2 separate regions of the Homo sapiens genome follow, and region 2 is linked to region 1. Evidence: promoter capture Hi-C in human tissues and cell types (Jung and others, 2019). All regions are on one chromosome and are shown on one strand. Each heading gives the region's core, a stretch centred on a gene start or on the middle of the fragment in contact. The rest is flanking DNA. Distances are from core to core; before and after follow the strand shown.

Region 1 (4,933 bases), core at 1,654-4,153:
TTTATGATCCTTTCCCCAGTATGTAATGAACACCATACCTTAGAAAACTGTTTAAAGCTGATTTCCCCTCCCCCCTTCAAAGATCCTAAAGCTTTACAGCAGGCTTTTAATGTTTTCATCCTTGATCATATAAAGAGAGGGGCATTTTTATACAAGACAGTTCCATAGCCTTCTGCTAGATTGGATCAGAATACGTAATACAGCAATGTAAAATATTCATTTGTGTTTGCTGTTTATGTCTAATATTGTGGAATCTACCTATATTTATTACAATAATGGTGATTATCAGTTGATTTTAAAAGTCTTGAAAATAATACTTGCAGAACTCACTATATGAGTACCTACATAATTTTTGCATATATTTTTCATATTGCAGAATATTTGAGGTTTCATATAATTGTATTACCATATATAATTATTTCTATGATTGTTTATTTTAGTTATAAAATGCTGATTCAGAAAAAAAGTCACACACACATATAGCATCTCTGTATCAGAGGCTAATAGTCTGTATCAGTATCATAAATTCTTCCATACCATTTTGTCATACAAAATGCTAAAACTGTAAATAAATACTGGCTGACTGACAACCAGCACAGCCTCTTTCATCATCCTGAAACACACACTTCCCAATGGGGTGCAAATTTTGTTTCTTCTTATAACCCAGGCCTTTCCAAGGAGTTCAGAAAGGTACTCCCTGACAGGCGAAACAGGGTGTCAAGGCTCTGTGTCTTTGGAACACATGTGTAGGCATCTCTACATTTCTTAGGAGGTCGCATTAGCAGAAGAGCAGAAAGGGCTGACTTCCCCGACACATCTCCGCATGTTCCCTAAGCACATCTGTCCCTGAAGGGAAATTCCCAGGAGGACACAGGACAGGTATGGTGCCCTCTGGGAAAGATGGGTGTCTTGTCAGAACTTGTTGCAATTCTTTCCTGCTAGGAAATCTCAAAATGAAAGTTTCAAACACTTTGCTTTAGGTTATACTGGAGAGCAAAGTATCATTTTCATGTTCATTTTGATAGTACCTTCTTTCAACTCTACCTTTTCTTAGTCACCGTTTTTTTAAAAAATTGACAATGCTCATGCATTTCTTCTGGCCTGTTGGTATGCTGATTCTTTAGGCACTGTCTAGGTAGGCAAAGAAAATGCACTGCCTTGCAGCCAACACACAGAGCTTCCCTGTGTGTCTTCCAGGAAAATCTTAGAGCCTCCCCTTTGCTTCTCGTATTTTCTCACAAGGGCCAGATTTCCTCTCTTCTCTTCTTTTACCTTCTCTTCTTCTCCTCTCTCTCTCTCTCTCTCTCTCTCTCTCTGTCTCTGTGTCTGTCTCGCTCTCTCTCCCTCCTCTCTTTCTCTCTCTCTCTCTCCTCTCTTCTGGCTAGGGGATTCTGCTTAATGGTTTAATTTCAACTGTCAGTAGGTTATACATTTTATGCAGATGTGTGTTCCAAAATTTGAAATGGGAATTTAAGCCGTAGCTACTCCCAGGCGATGTCAAATGATGACAATTTCCTCTGGTTCCCACAAGAGAGGAAGCCATTCATACATGTAAGTTCATATTTATGCGGTGACAGGCAGCCTAAGGTGCAGTCACACTTACTAATTGGGTCTGACTCAGTCAAGAGCAATAGCTTTCTAAATACCCAGGAAGAAATCATTTCAAAATATAATATTGGCTGGGCATGAGGAAATGTATGCTATTTACAATATTCACTGATTTCATTTTTACAACTATACAGGTGTTTTTTTTTTTTTAATTTGTCAACATTTCAGATGATGTAATGCTTATCAGTGCATATTTTTACATAAACGACTGTGAGGAGCATGAAGCAGCACGGGGTGCATAGAAGGACAGAACATTCTTAAAGCCCTCCTTGGTGCTGGAGATACATTGTACTAGCATGAAATTACGTGTTTGAAAAATCTCAAAAAGCATTGAATCTGAAGGGAGATGTTCCTCATTGACCCCTCCACTTGCGTGCACTTGGAATGTCACATCCCTTTCCAGGTTGTAATATTCAAAGTGGCAATCTTCCTGTCTCTCCTTCTGTCACCAAACCTGGTTTATTCTGAATGAGGCAGCTCTCTAGTACTGGAGTTAGGCTCTGAGCTGTCACTTGGCTAGGTAAGCGCCTTCCAATGATTACAGAGCAATTTCTCCCGGGCCTCTCCATTGCCACCTCTTCTCCCCCAAAAAATAAATATGATATTTAAAAAATAAATAAAAGCACGAAATTTTAAACACAGATGAAGCGGAAAAAGAAAGAAGACTTTACCCATGCATCCAATGCCACCCCCCACCCCCCCGCCCCCCCGGTCAATGATAAGGAAACGAAATTCATCACAAACCGAAAGGCTCACCATTCGCGAAGCTCTGGAACAAGGAGAGAGCCAGTATCCACATGCCCCTGCCGCTCCCCGGCCTCCCGCGAGCGACGCGCCGGCCTCGCCCCCCGCGCTCCGCCCGGCCCGGCTCCGCTCGCCGCTCGGCACCTGCCCGGGGGCCGCCGCCCGCCCGCCGCCCGCCGCCGCCGCCGCCGCTGCCTAGCCGCCCGGGCACGCGGCGCGGCCGGGCTCCGGAGCGAGGGCTGCGCTCGCCGCGCGCTGCGCTCCTGCACACCTGCTCCCGGGCGCCGCGCCCCACGCTGCGGCCGGAGCCCAGGTGCGCCGTCAGCTCAGTGGGCCCCCGGCAGGTCGGCAGGTGGAGAGAGCCGCAGACGCGGGCGTGAGCTCATCCCGGGCACTCGGCGCCCAGAATGCGCAGCCAGCGGCCTCCCGTGCGCCAGCCCTCACCCTCCGCATCCAGGCAGCAGGCGGGCGGGCAGGCTCATCTTTGCCGTGCTCCGGCCTCAGTCACATGGATCCCTCTGCCAACCTTCCCTGCCTGCGAGCCGGGCGAGTGAAGCCGAGCGCGGAGGCGAGCAGGGACCCCTCCCCTGCCTCTGGCCGCTGGGGCGCTCTGCAGTCTTAAAGCAGCAGCAGAGACGTGCAGCCGAACTGAGGCAGGACCGGGGAGAGCGCAGCCACCGCACAGTCACGCACAGTCATCAGGAGGAATTTCTTAGAGGCTTAAATAATCATTTCAACAGCTGCTTATTTTTAGTTATTTTCCTGCCGGTTGCTAATAAGGGATGGCCGGGGTGACTATTGCGGAAGGTGGCCAGCCACGGAGAGGTGAACATGAAATGCTCGTAGTTTTAATAAAATGTGCAGCTGGATTCCGATTCCGTATTTACTCTCAGAAAAGTCCAGTTCATTTGCTTAGAGGGAAATGCTCCTTCCAAATCCTTGCTGCTACTGTAAAGATCTCTATGATTTCACGGGCTAATTTTTAATTATCTTGAATACATGGTAGAATGCAAACACAAGCACTTCTAATTTTGCTCTCTGAATGGCGCATAAAAAAGCTGATTGAAATTGCTGATAATTTGAGTAATCCCAAACATATAGCCCCTTTCACGTTTCTGTGAAAAGTCAATATGTTAACATTTCCTGAATGTTCTGTATGATTCTTGAAGTCATGATAATATTTAAATTAAAGCTCTCACAAGGGCGTACATCTATCCATCACTTTGCAATATAATGACCGACAGGGCTGGAATGCACCCCAGTGTAGAAGCCAGGATGGAATGCTCACAGTCAGGACAATCAGGACTGAAAAAAAGCATTCGGTGGGGGTCAAGGGAGACATTTTCAAGGGAAATTGAGTAGGCTTTTTCCTAGGCACTAGGTATCCTAACTGGGCTCCATGTCCCCCTCCAAATACAGAAGAATGATGCACATCTCAGACAGCTCACAAAACACAGGAGAAGCAAATGGTGAGGCAGAAACAAAATGGTGCTTTACCAGGGTTGGGCACAAGATGGCCAGGCCCTGTGTACCAGGAAGGGTCAGCTGAGCCGGTGATGCTGCCTGGCTCACCACGGCTCTGCAGCTGCAGGTGATCACGTGCTGCCGCCCACTCAGGCTGCGCAGGCCCAGCCCCCAGTACCACGCACCAGAACCAGCATCCTCTGGCTTTGCAAATGCTGGGTGCTCAGTCCCTGGTCCTTCCCAAATGCAACCCAGGAAGGCAGGGGATGGGCCTGATTCTGTCCCTGCATCTGGCTGGTTGACCTATTCATTAATTCTTACTTGCACACTAGCCACCTGCAAGGGTGCCCAGGCACTGGGGTCAGGGAAACCCAGGGTCGAATTGCAGCTCCTCCACTACCCCGATGTGGGGCTTCTGCATGTGACTCGAGCCTCAATTTCCTCATATGCAGACTGGAAATTATCACAGTTCTTAACTCACAGAGGTGTGAAGATCTTTCCATCCGTTGACAGCACATGGTCACTGTAGTTAGCGATGGCTGTGGTTAACTGTTACTGAGTTTGGGAGCAGGGCTGGAAACATGATTTGTGGGGTCCACTATAAAATGAAAATGGAGAGCTCCTTTCTCAAAATGAAAAAGAAGCACCATAACAAGTGCTAAAACAGAACACTTCCTCCTTTCTTCCTGCCTCTCTCAACCAGTCATGGTGTTTTCTGCTACATGCTGCTCTTCCTTGGGCGTGGGAATGCACCCCTGTACAGACCCCACAGACCTTCCAGGTGACTCAGTGCAGTACAAGAGGCTTCCACTTGCCAGTTGCTTCCCTGCCCTTGGCTGCACCCACATGCTGTGGCCAGCCACAGTTAGGGGGTGGGGAAGCCACTGTCTCTCTCCCACAGCCCACTGTCCCAATGTACAGTGGACAGGAGATCCCTCAGGGATTGCAACCTCCATGCTGGGAAGCTCTGGGTATCTGGATTGGAGGTGGGCACAAGCCTCTGGCCACTTGTGGAATGTGCCCTGGCACTGCCAGCCTGCTGAGGGGATGGTCACTGCGAGGCCTTTCTCTGAACTCCTGCACAGTGCTTGTCCTGCACACATGCCCATACACTCAC
Region 2 (4,446 bases), core at 1,631-4,130, 89 kb after region 1:
ACCTCCTGAGATGTCCTTTCCCCACCTTTTTGCCTTGAAATTCTTTCCGTCCTTCCAAACCAAATCTATGTTAGGCTTAACGTCTCTCTAGAGAACCCATCTGTAGCTCCCATGGTATCCTGCTGATGGGCACCTGTCACCCTTACCTCATCATGTTTCGCACAACACTGCTCTGATGTGTCCTCAGCCACACTGTTAACCTCTGAGAAGAAGGCTAAGCCATTTTTATCTCTGCCTCCCCACTGCTGCTGAAATGGTGGATCTTTCGGGGCCTAGCCAGGAAAACAAAATCCCCATCAGATAATTTAATAGAGGAAATATAACTGGGAGAATTAAATGCAAAAGTATTTAAAGAATTAAAAGCACACACAGCGGAAAGGGAGGCAACCCAGAGATTAGCAGCACAAGGAGACTGGAGAAACAAATGGAGAGGACAAGGGGAGGAATGGAACTACCAGCAGGAGGGGAAACCACAGAGAACATGCATCTGGGGCCAGAGGCTCCATCCAGCACAGAGGGAAGCTGAGGAAAGTCCCAGCTTCTCCTTTCCCCTGACTTCCCCAATCCAACCCAAAACCAGCAGATGGGGGCTGCAGGCCTGGTTATGGGGCCAGCCCCACTGTGTTAAGGAGCAGAGCATAAAACAGCCCAGAAATAGATCCAAGGGCAAGCAAGTGGACCGCACAGATGGCAAAGGCTGGGATTTCTCAGGCAAATGAGTCAATTTTTAGCAAATAGCTAAAAATGCTGTAACACGGTTGCCGTCATAAGAGCCAGACAGCAAAGAGGATGCTGTAGACACATGGTGGAGCATTTGGTGAGGCCCTGTAGTTGGTGGAATAATCCCCCCCAGCAAATGCCTTCACCCCAATCCCCTGTGGATATGTCACGTTATATAGTGAAAAGGACTGCCTGATGTGACTGAATTAAGGATCTGCTGTTGGCGAGATGATCTCTGATTATGCAGGGAAGCCCCATGGAATCACCAGGGTCTTTACAAAACAGATGCCAGAGGTCGGTAGGAGATGTGGCCAGAGAAGCAGCGCTCAGAGTGATGCAAAGGGGGCCTAAGCCCAGGAATGCAGGCAGTAGTCTCCAGGAGCCGAAAAAGGCAAGGCAGCAGGTTCCCCCAGAGCTCCAGAAGGAACCACGCCTGCCAACTCCTTGATCTCAGCCCCCTAAGATTCATTTTAGACTTCCGATCTCCAAAAACTACGGGAGAATAAACTTGTATTGTTTTAAGCCACAAAGTTTGTGGTGATTTGTGGCAGCAGCAACAAGAAACTAGTTAGTACGCATCCTTCATGAGGAGTCAGACTTAAGGAGAGAGGGGTGTCCAGATTTAGTGTGAACCAAGGGCTTACCGTCCTGGTGAAGGTGGTAGGTGCTCAGGTGAGAGAAAAAACAGAAAGGAAAAAGGAAGGAGAGGAAAGGCCAGGAAGGAGACTTACTTACCTGCTGGTCATGTGCATCCCAGAGGTAGAAAGGATTGGGTGGGCAATTGCGAGGCTACACTAAGGAGCCTTCAAACTCCTAGCTGAAGAATGTCTATTTTACGTGGCTGTTAGAGAAATATTAAACTCAGTAGAAATCTGGCCATGCATAAAGATCCAACCGCCACTGCCTGGAATGGAGTAATTGCCCAGCGACGCTGGTATTTGTGGTTAATCTGAATTATTTCGGCAAAGTGATCCTGTTTTTGTTTTGTAGATTTTTTGTTTTATTTCTTCCTGACCTGTATTGTTCAACACTTGCTTTGATTTTCCACTAGAAGACCTAATGCAAATCTGGATTTTTCTTTTCTTTCTTTTTTCTTTTTTTTTTTTTTTTTTTTTTTTACTAATATAAGGTAATTTCAGTCAAAAACCACTAAACGCTGATAAAAACTCTAGGTGAACTCTGTATCTTTTGATTCCTTTTAGCCTAATGGCCACTGATTACTGTGCTGATCTAGGAAGCTGCTTATTCGTTTTACCACCAGGCAGCCAGCATGGAATTCCATTGCATTGGTGTGCTTTGTTTAACTTTTTAAAACTCCTGATGTGAAGTCTCCTGAAACTAACCTTATTTTGTCTAAAATTACAGTTAAATCCACTTAATCCACATGGTTCTGTAAAACCATTGTCTGTAAGTTATTTTGATTTTTTTAAGTGCATTTGCTTTATTTTGAAAGCTCAGGTCTAACCAAATATTTCTCTAAGAGTTCAATTTGGAATCAAGGCTAACAGAGCTGACTGGAGGATCATTTTCACATCACAACCTTCTGAGTCCTGGGAACACACAATGTCACCATTGTCAACATTGACTGGTGCATTCGTGATGGACAACAGGTTGGTTCATTACTGCAAACAGGCCCCAATTAGTTTGCTAAATGTGTTGTTATACCTGCATATGTTTTTTTTTAAATGTCTCTCTCCAACCACTCATTTCACCCTTTCAAAATGTAAAAGATTTTATAACAGGTTCCCAAGGTCACTGATGGGCACAGTGTACCTAAGTTTCCTATCCCTCTTTTTAAATTTTTCTTGTCTCCTACAACCATTTTATATCAGTGATTTAAAGTATGTTGGCATTGAAATTGGTTAGCAAGTTGATCTTTAAATATATTAAATCAGCTTGACATCTTATGATTATAGTAACTATTATCACTATTGCTTTAGAAACATATAAGTGAATTCAGATTTTAACAATACACTTTGTGATAAATACAAAATTAAATGAGACTATCTACTGAAATGGGCGAAGAGAACTAGAAAGTACTAAATTACAGAGTCCATGGCCAAAAGCACAAGATGGCATATTTTCCATCAACCAACTCAGTTGAGCTTGGCACATAGTAGGAACTCAAGAAATACTTGTGTAATGAATAAATTAATGAATGAAAATGAATTAAATAAAAATTAATTGCGATGTGGAAGAAATAATTTATCCATGACATAAAATTGTAGCTCATACTCTTCTTGGCAATATTTGTGCTTATGGAGAAAAAAATAAAATAAAATAAGTAATCCTCAATAAATTGTGAAACATTCCAGCTCCAGATATGACATGTTATGACCTTTCCATTGCTTTTAACTTGAGCACATTATCTGTGGTGCAGCTGAAGCGCTCTGAGATCAGCTTTCCTTTCTGCCAAGCGAGTCACAGTCATTGGCAACAGGCAGGAGCTCTCAGATCTGCCATGAACAAGATTAACTGAAGTACAGTTCCAAAAGAGAACTGGAGACCACCAAACATACATGTTTTTTAGAAGAAAGCAGAGAAGTGGGGGAAATCTTGGAAAATCTGTTTTTACATCTGAAGAGAAATTAACAGGAGTAGCATGACAAGGACTGCTGAGATGCACAGAGGTAAATAAGAGCATCAGGGTTTCCTCATATTAGCTAAAGCTTTATGATCCAAATTCTCTAGGAACTGGGCTCCACTTTTTGACTCCTTTGGTTTTTTGTTTGGTTGGTTGGTTGGTTTTGGAGTTTGTTTGTTTGTTTCCTTGAGATGGAGTTTCGCTCTTGTTGCCTAGGCTGGAGTGCAATGGCGTGATCTCAGCTCACTGCAACCTCCGCTGTGCTGTCCAGTGGCCTCCGCTCCTCCCCTGCCACCTGCTTCCATGAGCTCATAACATTCCAATGGCAAATCAGTGATTCCGGAAGAGGAAACCAAGCCTCAGTGCCTGGGAGGCGCCTTTGTCTATCCAGGAGTGGCTCAACTCAAATTCCTTAAGAAATTGGGTGTCCATGGAGACTAGGTTAACTCCTAATTCCAGGTGGCAGTTTCTCAAGGAAGTTACTCAGCCTTTCTCATTTCGGGGAATTCACGTAACATGTTGTGTCTTTGGTTTTCCTTCTGATGCGTGCAGTTCTGAACAGTGCGTCCTTGAGGGAATTGTCATGCCTAGCTCAGACCCATTTTCACAGTTTTCTGCTAGCTCTGCTGAGTGACTCACGAACCTCCATGGCTCACCTGGGTCACCTCGGGCAACTGCTCCTCTGTCCAACAGCACAGTTTTGCTGCCTCTAGGCTGATGGTCACTCTGAGGGAAATGGGGCAGGAAAGTACCTGAATTCAGAACCACAGGTGGTCCCCGGTGAACTTTCACCCTAGGAGAGTTTGACATTCAAAGTAGAATATAAGCTCCATGACAGCCAAGTGCCTAGGACAGCCAGGTATACAGTAGAAACTTTAAAAATATATATATGTATACATGTCTAAATATATACATATTTTTATAATATATCAATATGTTTTTAAATATAATTATATATATAATTTTTGTAACTTTTCTTTTAATTTCAGGGGTACACATGCAGGTTTGTTACATAGGTAAACTTGTCTCATTGGGGTTTGTTTTACAAATTACTTCATCACCCAGGTATTATTATCACCCAGCCTATTATTACCCATTAGTTATTTTTCCTGATTGTCTCCCTCTTCCCAACCTCCACCCTC

The links. Contacts are between HindIII fragments. The study calls those that stand out against the background at their distance.
Region 2: a contact is called between a fragment that was not itself captured here and the fragment with the promoter of DSCAM in region 1, in 3 of the 25 tissues and cell types used here (H1 embryonic stem cells, IMR-90 fibroblasts and pancreas).

The regions. Positions count from the first base shown.
Region 1 is chr21:40,844,255-40,849,187 of GRCh38, forward strand. It overlaps DSCAM (DS cell adhesion molecule), which reads right to left and starts at 2,904. Exons shown (of 33, transcript NM_001389.5): 1 at 2,365-2,904. The coding sequence starts at 2,407. The HindIII fragment of the contact is 24,098 bases long and covers 1-4,933 here.
Region 2 is chr21:40,933,227-40,937,672 of GRCh38, forward strand. No RefSeq gene overlaps it. Among named protein-coding and RNA genes, the nearest start is that of DSCAM, 88 kb to the left of the region's middle. RefSeq lists enhancers at 1,665-2,166, 3,082-4,281. The HindIII fragment of the contact is 8,381 bases long and covers 1-4,446 here.